Regions from separate parts of the Homo sapiens genome. Here region 1 is linked to region 2. Evidence: promoter capture Hi-C in human tissues and cell types (Jung and others, 2019). All regions are on one chromosome and are shown on one strand. The core of a region is centred on a gene start or on the middle of the fragment in contact, and the rest is flanking DNA. Distances in the headings are between cores, read along the strand shown. Region 1 overlaps PAXBP1 (PAX3 and PAX7 binding protein 1). Region 2 holds the start of IL10RB (interleukin 10 receptor subunit beta).

Region 1 (6,585 bases), core at 359-2,858, 530 kb after region 2:
GTTTGAAAACAGATTGCTTTCTTTTCTTTCTCAATATTAATGAAACTCATTGATCTCAATGAATTTTGTTTTGCTTTTTTAAAATGGGTCCCCTGTCTCTGGGCTAGTCATTTAAACATATGTAAGTTTTGTTCTATATGGATAAATGTAAACTTTTTTTTTTTTAACATGCTGTAGCTTGCATATCTGTTTCCTTTCTTTGAAAATGTGTGCTTGGAAAAATTGATTGCAGAAGCTCTAAAATAGCCATGAAATCAGTAGCAAATTTTCTCTTAGATATACTAATTAATGAGATGCTGCTATATTTTTTTCTTTTAGGGAAAACATAAAACAGATAGTAAAACTCCTTGCAAGTGTTCGAGCTTTGGATCATGCTATGTCTGTTGCAAGTGACCACAATGTGAAAGAATTTAAGTCTTTGATCGAAGGAAAATAGATCTATGAGACTGAAAAACCTATTTGCTTGATTACCATTCCCAATGTGTAAATTTTGTATATATGTAAAGTTTCTTAAACTGTAAAATAGCAATTCTTGTTTTAATACAAAAAACATTATATTCAATACTGTGTCCTTAAATGATATTTCTTCAGAATGAAAGGAATTCAGATTATTTCTAGGAGTCTATGAATGTTTTCTTTACTGCCTGTCATACTTTGTTTACTGAAGTATTTTGTATGGTCATTTAAATTAACCCTCTCAGTTAATTGTCCCCTGTAAACGATGTGTGCAGTGTAAATTGTGTAATTATGCATATATATATTTATACCACCATGGACTTACTTTCACACTGGAAATTTGTGGTGTTTTTCCACAGAGGAAGCCTTTTAACAGCAGAAAATTATCCGGTAGCAAATTGTCTTAGGGAAATTACTACACTGTTGTAACAAAAGGGCTGGCAAGTGACTAAATGTTCATTACCTTTTGGTTAGCGTTGCTATCACTGTAGCTGTGCTGCCTTAACATTGAGAGTTGAGTTGTGGACTTAGTCATTGAGTGAATGTTGAACTTTCTTCCTTGAATCAGCGTTAGAGTCAAATGTGGGTTTAATGTGAATGCTAAATGAATATGCAACATAGTTTCAAATGGAACATAGAAATTTCACTTTTGAAAATAATAAACCCACAACCTAATTGCATGGTTTTGGGCTGACCGTCCTGTCTCATTCATGATTTTACTCCCTGCCCAGCTTGCAGATACATGCATTTGAATTTTAGTAGTCTGTCATATTTAAAATCCCACATATGTGAGTTAAATATGCAATAAAGAATACGCCTTGCTGATTAGCCACACCCAGGCAATTTAATATCCATGGTCTTCTATAATGTTTATACCACATTGTAAATATTCAGAGAACTTGTTTTAAAGTTTATGCTTTCTGATTCTGTGATTTTCAAAAGAGGAATTTTTTTGGAAATTAAGGACTATCGTTTGATAATTATATATGTAATTAAGATTTAGCCAAGCATTAAATTAATTTTTAAATATATCCTTTGTTGTATTTTCCTGACGACTAAATTTGCAGCATTTCAAATGACTCTAATAAAGTGGGACTGTGAGCAGGCCCATGTGTACCCTTGATCAGGACATAATATGCAGAACAGTGTCATGCACTGTATTTGCTCTGTTAATTTTATCTTATCCCTACATATTTGTATTAGTTCATTCTCACGCTGTTATAGGGACATACTTGAGACTAGGTAATTTATAAAGAGGTTTAATTGACTCACAGTTCCGCATGGGTGGGAAGGCCTCAGGAAACTTACAATCTTGACGAAAGGCACGTCTTCACAGGGTGGCTGCAGAGAGAAATGAGTGCTGAGGGAAGGGGGAAGTCCCTTATGAAGCCATGAGATTTCATGAGAACTCAGGAGAACAGCATGGCGGAAACCACCCCCCATGATTCAGTTATCTCCACCTGGTCCCGCCCTTGATGTGGGGATTATTACAATTCAAGGTGAGATTTGGGTGGGGACACAGAACCAAACCAAATCAGTATTCATTCTGGATGAATTTTTCATTACACCTTACTGGCCTACTAAGTAGAATTAAAGTCAGAACACCTATTCCTCATCTTAAGTAGAATAAAACATAAAACATGTATCTGTATCACATACAGATCATTTAGGCCTTAAACTGCATATTATTTCCAAACCCATTAGACTAATTACTCTGCTTTTAAGAACTCTTAAAATAGAGTTTTTATCCTATGAAATCTGTCAGGCTATATTGGTTTCAGGAATGGGTTTGAACATCACACTAGGAATTTGATGTAGGGTACATAAAACAATGGTTTTTCTATCCCAAGCAGAACATTTTTATTCCTGAAATAGCTTAAGGACATTATTTCTTATGAAAGGAATTATCAAAAGATAAATCCAGAGGGTTACATTTTAATAAAGCTGGTTTTGCTTTTCAGTTTTTTCTTTTGGAGCAATCCTCTGAATTAACTCCAAAATAGGTGACAAATGTTTTTGAGAAGGAAAGCTACTTTATTGAAACAACATAAACCACAGTCAAGAGTGACTAGTACTACTGTAGCCAATGATGTCGAAGTCTCACCATGTCCCTGTTCTTGCCACTGGTGTCCTCTTGCAAGTATTTGCTCCTCTGCCTGAGGGCTTTTCTTTGGCCTGTGCAACAGGCTGGAGTGTCCTGGAGATACTTCCTGGAACAGATCTCAGCCAAGGGAGAAAAGGAATTGGAGGCTAAATGCCCCAGTGTGTCAGTTAGGGTCCTCCTGGGAGCAGACACTGAGATGGTATTAAATGTACAGGAAGTTTATTGGGGGAATGCGTATAAGAGAAAACGGAGGGGAGCCTGGAGGAGGCTGGGAAAGCTGTCAGACAATGAGGCAGGCAGGTCTCACCTGTGTGAAGGAAGGAGGATGAAAGTCTTAGACATTGGTGCAGTTCTAAAGTTTCAGCAGGGCCAACTGGCAGCTCTGACAGGTACAACCAGGGGTCTCCTTGCTAGTATGAGATCTGAGAGACAGAATTTCCTGATGACCAAACCCAATTTGCTGATCTCTCAGGAAAGCAGGTATGGTCCACATTGCCTATAAGAGGTCTTCAGTTGAGTAGAGCCATAGTTGCCTGCAGTGGTAACATTACCAGCACCCAGAATTGGCCAAAAAATTGAAAATGCTAATAATCATCCTTGAAATCATGAAACTCTTACAAAAGTAGTCAAATGTTACAGAGCTGCAATATAAAATAGGAAACTGTAAGTTGCTACATTGTAGTGGTTGTTAATGGTTACAAGAGCTCTTCTTATCTCTAACATGGTAATACCCATGTAATAAAGGGAGTCTTGCCATTCACTGATTATGACAAAACATTTGATCTGTTGTTTCAAGTAAATGAAAATGAGAAAAACACTAGCACTACATGTAGGAAGAAAAAAACATATCTGAATGGGAGGTGTACTTTCATAAACGTTTTGAAGACTGCCCTCCAGAAATGAAACTGTCCATGGATACTGGGTTCACAGCTGCTAAAAGCTGCCTCAGACTGCCCAAACACAGGCTGAATATTGTTATATGGGATTGGTATCGACATGCAATGTAGACTGGTCCCTGGCCTGCTTTGGGACTCTAGCCCCCAGTAATTTGTACTGCGTTCCTGTCAGTCCTAACTCCAGCAGCGGCTTAAAGGATACAATCATTCAGTACAATGAAAATCCCTAGCACATGACTTCTTAGGCTCTTGCTAAATATCTTTAGGAAAATGTATGAGAAAAGTTTTGACAAAACACTGCAGAAACCATTTTAAGCTACTTTGCAAAAACATTTTGATCATGAAAGCTTACCTTTTACTTGTAACCTTAGTGACATTGCTGTTGCTTTGGGACCGAGAGCCAACTTGAACAACTTGAATACAGCTCTAATCTTGAAGGTTGAGCCCTGTTTCTGGCTCCGGCACTTTGATTTCCACAAGAATCTTTGTGTTTCATTAAAATAAACCCCCTTCACTTGATCTCTCTTCAGTTGGTCTCTTGTTCCAAATGAAAATACTTCATTTTTATCTATCACAAGTTTCCTGTTTTCTCTAGTGGCAATTTCCTGTCTATGATACCTGCAAGTTATTTTTCAATCTGTTTTTTTTCCACAGTGATTCTGCTCTCAAGCTTACTAGTTTTTTATTCATAGGATTTCCATTTTTCTAATTTAAAATCTTATCCTTCACTGGTTACAATGAATTTCTTTAAAGAAAAAGCTAATGCTATTTGTAACCTACTGTTGCGTTGCCTTTCAAGACCACTGTTTTCTGTTCGAGCCATTTCTTTCTCAGTCATTGGTGGGGAACATGGCCAGGTACAACTAGGGTCTGCAGATCCTGCTATACTAGGACCAGGATCTGCAGAGCACTATACTAATAACTCTGCAGATCCTGATCCTGATATAAAAGTTAGCTTAGCCTGTGTAACCTGAAAAGAAGCTGTTAAAGGTTACTGAATCAGACTGTTAATATTTCCCTGATCTTCCATGTTGTCTAGCATTTTTGACAAAAAAACAAAAAACAAAAAACGAGCACTACTACTATATTGCCACTATGTGATTTTTTTTTAACCTATGAAAATAACAATTCCATGTTTCAACATAATGAATTGCATATTTCAACTAGAGTTGCCCATAGGAGAAATAACTTGCTCACAAATCAACATCTAGAATTTAGGGTGTTTGTCTTTAATTTGTTCTATTGGATGTGATATCTGAAACACCTACCTGGGGCTGTCTCTCTCCTGATGGAAAGTCACATCAGCCTTGTGTTAATTTCTTGTAGCTGGTGTTACAAATTACCATGAACTGGGTGGTTTAAAACAACAAAAATGTATTTTCTTGCAGTTCTGGAGGCCAGAACCAACAGGGCCATGCTCCTTCCAAAGGCTCTAGGCTCAAATCCTTCCTTGCCTCTTCCAACTTCTGATGGCTGCTGACATAGCTTGGCTATGGCCACATCGCTCCAATCTCTGCTGCTGTCTTCACATCACTTTTTTTTCTCTCTCTCTCTCTCCTGTGTGCGTGTTTAATTTTCCTCTGCCTCCCTGTTATAAGGACACTTATGATTGCATCTAGGGCTCTAGGGCCCACCTGGATAATTGAAAATAATCTCAAGACCCTTAATCAAATCTGTAAACCTAAATTAACATTCACAGACAAGGATCTCTTTTTGAAGTAGCGTTTTTTAGCCTCCCACAGGCTCTTCATTGCACAGTTTCAAGGGTTGAGTTGGTGTCAGCCTGTCTCTGTAGGCCCTTAGGATCTCACTAAGAAGTTTGTGTATGCCACTTAACCTATATTTTAAGTCACCCTATCCCAAAGACATTTCAAGGTCAGTGAAAATTTTTCCAACTATTGTCAAATGCTGTAACAAAAGTAGAAGTATAAATAGGAAAGAGGGACAAGAAAAAGAAGATAGAACCAATCAAGCCACTAGTCAAATTGCCTTTATGTTTTTCAAACTCTGGGCATGTGTCTTTTTCATGACTAAAATGAGATGTGGAAAAGCTGTGGCCTTCTAACAAATCTAGGAATAAGTCTTGCTACCCCCCAGTTTAATTTGAAGAAAGAAGCTGGAATTCCAACCCAGAACCCAGAAATTTTGACCTAAATCTCCTCAGTCCAAAATAAAAAGGAACCAGGAATATGCAGAACACTTGTTCGTAAAAGAGCTTAGTACCCATGCTTCCCACTATAAGAAAGGAAGCATTTCTAGTGTAGCCTTACAGACACACAGGCATGGTGGAAAGGATTTTGGGCTTTGGAGTAAGCAAGTTTGGTTTCAGTACCCAACTCCTCTTGAAACTGAATGATTTCAGTTGTCATAAAAGGTACCTCTCGGCCGGGCGCGATGGCTCACGCCTGTTATCCCAGCACTTTGGGAGGCCGAGGCGGGTGGATCACGAGGTCAGGAGATCGAGACCATCCTGGCTAACACGGTGAAACCCTGTCTCTACTAAAAATACAAAAATTAGCCGGGCGTGGTGGTGGGCACCTGTAATCCCAGCTACTCGGGAGGCTGAGGCAGGAGAACGGCGTGAACCCGGGAGGCGGAGCTTGCAGTGAGCCGAGATCGCGCCACTGCACTCTAGCCTGGGCGGACAGAGCGAGACTCCGTCTCAAAAAAAAAAAGGTACTTCTCAAGCAACACATTTGATATCAACAGTTTTTTCTGAGACAGTACTGACATAGAAATCCCCTCTAGTTCTTAGAACTAAATCCAAGAATCTTTGTGTTTCTCCTTCATGACTTGAAGTGGCTTCTTTTCTAATAAATTTAGTTCCGTGTCCTGAAACCAGGGTGGGTACAGCTTCTCTAAAATGGACGAAAAAATCAAGTCACATGACAGGGCCTGAAGAGGGAAATGATTTTTGCAACATAACCAAATTTAAATCCTGCTTTGGCTGTTGAAAACCAGAAGGAGAAGAGGTAAAGAAAAAGCAAACGCAAGTGGAGACAGTTTGAGTGCTGGGTTCTTCAGGTTTTCAATTTCTTTCTGCCCTGTTGGCTTTGACTTCATTCTCTTTCTTATTAGGTCTATTCAATGGAAGCAGAAATCTATGGGACACGCTGATATTAGCCAGGA
Region 2 (4,794 bases), core at 575-3,074:
GAGTAAAATGGGGACAGACAAAGGAGCCTTGGATTTGTCTGGTGGCAGAAAGCTATGAGGGGGTAGGGTGGGCACATGGATTTCAGATATATTTCCAGACGTAAAAACAAACTGGAGACTTCCTGATACATTTGATGCATAAAAGCTGAGGTCAATGTCCATTTTGGGCTTAAGCAGCTGGTGCCCCGATTGGAGCTCAGCTGGGGAACTCACGAGTCCCATTTGAGCTGCATTAGGTTGGAGATGCTGGAGAGAGGCTGAAGTAGGAATGTCAGGGAGACAGCCAGATGAATGAGCCCAGAGGTCACACCAAGAAGAGATGTGGGCTAGAGACAGAAATTATTTTCAAACCTTTTAATAGAAAATTCGAAACCTGGCCAGGCATGGTGGCTCGCGCCTGTAATCCCAGCTCTTTGGGAGGCTGAGGAAGGTGAATCACCTGAGGTCAGGAGTTCGAGACCAGCCTGGCCAACATGGCGAAACCCCATCTCCAATAAAAATACAAAAATTAGCCAGGCGTAGTGGCACACACCTGTAATTCCAGCTACTCGGGAGGCTGAGGGAGGAAAATCGCTTGAACCCGGGAGGCGGAGGTGGCAGTGAGGCAAGATCAAGCCACTGCACTCCAGCCTGGGCCACAGCAACAGAGCAAAACCCTGTCTCAAAAAAAAACAAAAAAACAAAAAAACAAACAAACAAAAAAAAAAACGGAAGAAGAAAGAAAGAAAAGAAAATTTGAAACCTACATGCAAGTAGAAAAGTAGAAGACTATAATAAACCACCACCCATCACCCAACTGGTACCAAGAGAGATATAAATGTGCGAGTCATGGGCCTATAGCCCGTGTTTAATGCCAGGGTTTGGCTGAAATCCCCCAAAGGAACAGTGCCAGGGAAGGAGAGAAAAGGCCTTGGGCATCACAATTAGCTACATAGAAACCTGACAGAGCAGGAGGGTCCCAAGCAGAGACAGCCTGACAGGGCGGGAAACCGGAGGGGTATCCCGGAAGGCCAGGGAAGAGTTCATGAGAAAGGAAGGAGGTGACCATGGTGTTATTGGAACCTAGGCAGTCAATTTAGAGGACAGAAAAGGTTTCAATGGATTTAGGTTTAGAAGCCATGGAGCTGGGGCGCTGGGGGACAGAATCCAGATTTCAGGGTGCTCGGGCCTGAACCGGAAGGAGGGGAGGTGCAGCGGGTGATGGGAGGCACATCTGTAGGGAGGGCTGGCACTGAGGGGGCAGACTTGGGGTCAGGGAGGGCTGTCAGGGCACTCGGGGACTGGTGGGGGCCTCCACTTGAACTGATAGTCTCCAGAAGGGTCAGATGACAGCCACGGTGGGATCTTGGGTCTTTTGGGGAAGCTACTTTATTTAGACGCCCGCCAGCAGAGAGCTGCAGGAGGACAGGGAATCAAAAGACGCCGGGAGTCTCCCCCTGAGTTTAGGGCCCAGACGGTCTGTAATCCGGGCGCGGATGGGGCTTTCTCCTGTTACAGAATCGACGGCAGCAGCAGCCTAGTTGCGTCTCAGCAGCCGGCCGTGGCGTTTGCATCTTCTCTCCCGAGGCCCCGAAGGCTCTTAAGTCACTTGCAGGGCGCCCAGGGATGGGATCAGGGGCGGCATCTCGCGGGGCCTCCCGGTTCCCAAGCGCGCCCCCTCCCCGCGGACCCCTCACCTGACACCAGCAGGCAGCCACCCAGCCAGCTCCCAAGGCTCCACGCCATGGACGGACGCTGGGGGTTCCGCGGCTTCCTCCAAGCACACGACCCCCGCCCGCGCCCGGGAGAGCTTGTCCGCGGCGGCTTCCGGGAACCAGCGGAGATGGGCGGGGCGGGGTGGGGAGGGGCCGGGCGACCGGGCTCCCACCCCGCTGCAGGCCCCGCCCACCAGCCCGGGTCCACCCGCGAGGCGCGGGGCACAGGCTTGGCAGATGCACACGAGGAAGAGGAAGGGATCCTCGCAAGCTTTGAAAGGCGCCGTCAAGTCAAATAAATAAATGCCCTACAACACCAACCCAGGACTGAGATCTGCATGCTGGAATGACGGTGGTGGTGGTGGCTTTCAGTATTCCCCAGGTTTTGTCCGGAGCACCGGCACGCCCTCTCTTGAAGTCCGCTCTCCGCACAGGTGAGTTAAAAGCACTTCAGCAGCAAATCCAGTTTGAGGGTCTTCTTTACCCTTCTCCCCAGGGATAAACAACACAAAACCAAGTCATCTTTACGCAAATAACTAGTTTCTTTCAGAGACTACTAAGAAAGCGTTAATTTCCTCTTTTTAACTTGATTAGTGGTTAGACGGGAAGATCCGGAGCTGTCCAGTGTCTTGGGTAATGCACGGCATCGCCTGATGTCTGACGCTAGAACACCACGTAAAGTCAAGCAGAGGGAAGTGAATGCGCCCTAGGCCCCTGCAGGCCACCAAGAAGAGCTAGAGGGAGTTGGTGCAATCCTAGAGATGCCGGCAGGTGCACCAATCTGTGGCACACGTACGCTCTCCAATGGAAGACAACTCAAGACCACACCAAGTTTGTATTAAAAAAGTACTGTTGTGTTACTTTTTACCAACCTCCAATCATTATACAAAATGTTAAAAAATACACAAACACACACACACACTCACAGCCATAGAGGTTATCGCAAAAGATCAACCCAGAATCTTTCAGAATATGACAGATGCACTGAGAAGGCAGATAAATTGATTCAATATACAAAAGGCCTCTTTCCTATGGAATTTCATTAGATTAAATAAGGTGTTCCCTCCTCACAGCCTCATCCTTATGAGCAATCATATAAATAATCTATTTAAAGTCCTTGAACTATAACTTGTATAATTTTTAGTTTTCCCCCTTTGAAGGGGCCTAAGAGAAAGGTTTGAGAAACCAGCTCTTGAGGGGGGCAGGGGTGAGGGGTAAGAGGTCCTGTGCCTTTCATTCATCCTGGGAGCTTCTCAGGATTGCAGCATTTCCACCTGAGTGTTCATTCTTGTACATTTTCTCATCTTTCTCCTGGGTTCCTAGGATCTTGGAGATTACCTAGTCCAATCCTTTTACTTCAGAAACAAAAAACCTGAGGCTCAGAAAGGCTAAGTCAAATGCCTAGGGTCACACAGGGAAACTGTGGGAGTTGGATCCCTGAGTCCCAGTCCTTAAACTGGTTGCTACATGACATTCTAGAACCTCTCCCCACCAACTCCCTTTTTAAAGACAGGGTCTGGTTCTGTCACCCAGGCTGAAGTGCAGTGACATGATCTTGGCTCACTGCAACCTCCGCTTCCTGGGCTCAAGCCATTCTCCCACCTCAGCCTCCCAAGTAGCTGGGACAACAGGCACATGCCACTACGCCCAGTTAATTTTTCTAATTTTGTTTTGTAGAGACAGATTTGCCATGTTGCCCAGGCTGGTCTCGAATTACTGGCCTCAAGCGATACGCCTGTTTAGGCATCCCAAAGTGCTGGGGTTACCGGCAGGAGCAATTGCTCCGGGCCAGACTTCCCTTCCCCCGCCCACACCCCCCCAACCCGGCCTAGATCCACAGGCACTGTAATCACAGCTGACACACTCGACTCGGAATCAGCATAGAGAGCACTCTGAAAATTGTCAAATAGGGTCCCTGAAACTTGTATACCATACTTCTCCTGAAGATCTTGAAGCATCTTTGTGTTTGCTTTTTTTTTTTTTAACTTAAAATATGGCATTCAGGTTTTATCCCTCTCCCCGACGCCATGTTTCCTTTCTGTATTAGTCACACACGTGATCCTAAAGTCTGTCTTCCCCACTTTAACTGGGGAGGGCTGGACAAGGTGGAATTCCAATTGCAGGAGACAGGATGTGACATGGGTGAGGTGCCCAAGGCTCACCGACTGAAACTTCGATGGCTCTTCCCTGTTTCCTTGTGCAGGGCCCCCCTTCTCTCCACTGCTCACCTGGCTCTCCTCCTCCCTTCCTGCCTGCTTTGCAGCTCTTGCTACTATTTTCCTTTTCTTTCCCTGCTCCCACCCTGGCCCAATTTATTTCACAGAAATATCACAGGGCCAGCCAGGCACAGCGGCTCACCCCTGTAATCCCAGCACTTTACGAGGCTGAGGAGGGCAGATCACTTGAGGTCAGGAGTTTGAGACCAGCCTGGCCAACATGGTAAAATCCTGTCTCTACTAAAAATACAAAAATTTGCTAGGCATGGTGGCAGGCGCCTGTAATCCCAGCTACTTGCGAGGGAGGCTGAGGCAGGAGAATCACTTGAACCTGGGAGGCGGATGTTGCAGTGAGCCAAGATCACACCATTGCGCTCCAGCTTGGGCGACAGAACGAGACTCTGTCTCAAAAAAAAAAAAAAAAAAGAACGAAAGAAGAGAAATATCATAGGGTCCTGGACCACCTCTGAAACTGTGGGGAACCCTGCTCCCTGGTAGACATGATGCAGAAACATCCTAAGTGCATTAGTGTAAAGGAAAGGTGCACATGTGCTTCCTTCAAAGTGCACCACTTTGAATATGTAAACAATGCACTGAATGATACTATGGTCCCCATACTGGGAATGTGCATAGGTGATGTCACCTGGAAGAAAGGAACACCACAGTTTCCTCCTCCTTCCCTTGGAGAACACTTGCAGACGATAAGGCAGCAAGTTAGGATGCAGAGACAAAGAACCCTGTAGGTGCTTGTCTGTCCAAGTTCATTCAATAGTTTTGGAGTCATCTCATTATATAACCATCCCCAAGGTCAACATCTGACTCAGAAGTGTCACTTTGATCAGATGGAGCATCTTCGGACCACAGGCCCTCTGAAGAGGGGCTGG

Evidence for each region. Contacts are between HindIII fragments. The study calls those that stand out against the background at their distance.
Region 1: a fragment that was not itself captured here is called in contact with the fragment with the promoter of IL10RB in region 2 in 1 of the 25 tissues and cell types used here (dorsolateral prefrontal cortex).

The regions. Positions count from the first base shown.
Region 1 is chr21:32,728,801-32,735,385 of GRCh38, reverse strand. PAXBP1 (PAX3 and PAX7 binding protein 1) reads left to right here. Exons shown (of 18, transcript NM_016631.4): 18 at 319-1,487. The coding sequence ends at 436. PAXBP1-AS1 (PAXBP1 antisense RNA 1) reads right to left here. Exons shown (of 4, transcript NR_038879.1): 1 at 4,725-6,585; 2 at 1,729-1,797. Among named protein-coding and RNA genes, the nearest start is that of PAXBP1-AS1, 4.0 kb to the right of the region's middle. The HindIII fragment of the contact is 7,980 bases long and covers 1-5,598 here.
Region 2 is chr21:33,263,397-33,268,190 of GRCh38, reverse strand. It overlaps IL10RB (interleukin 10 receptor subunit beta), which reads right to left and starts at 1,824. Exons shown (of 7, transcript NM_000628.5): 1 at 1,677-1,824. The coding sequence starts at 1,725. The region is part of intron 7 of IFNAR2-IL10RB (IFNAR2-IL10RB readthrough); the gene reads right to left. It overlaps IFNAR2 (interferon alpha and beta receptor subunit 2), which reads right to left. Exons shown (of 9, transcript NM_001289125.3): 9 at 2,527-4,794. The coding sequence ends at 4,691. IL10RB-DT (IL10RB divergent transcript) reads left to right here and starts at 1,931. Exons shown (of 2, transcript NR_038974.1): 1 at 1,931-2,128; 2 at 2,289-2,559. RefSeq lists a silencer at 1,569-1,978 and enhancers at 2,149-2,218, 2,249-2,308. The HindIII fragment of the contact is 10,877 bases long and covers 1-3,746 here.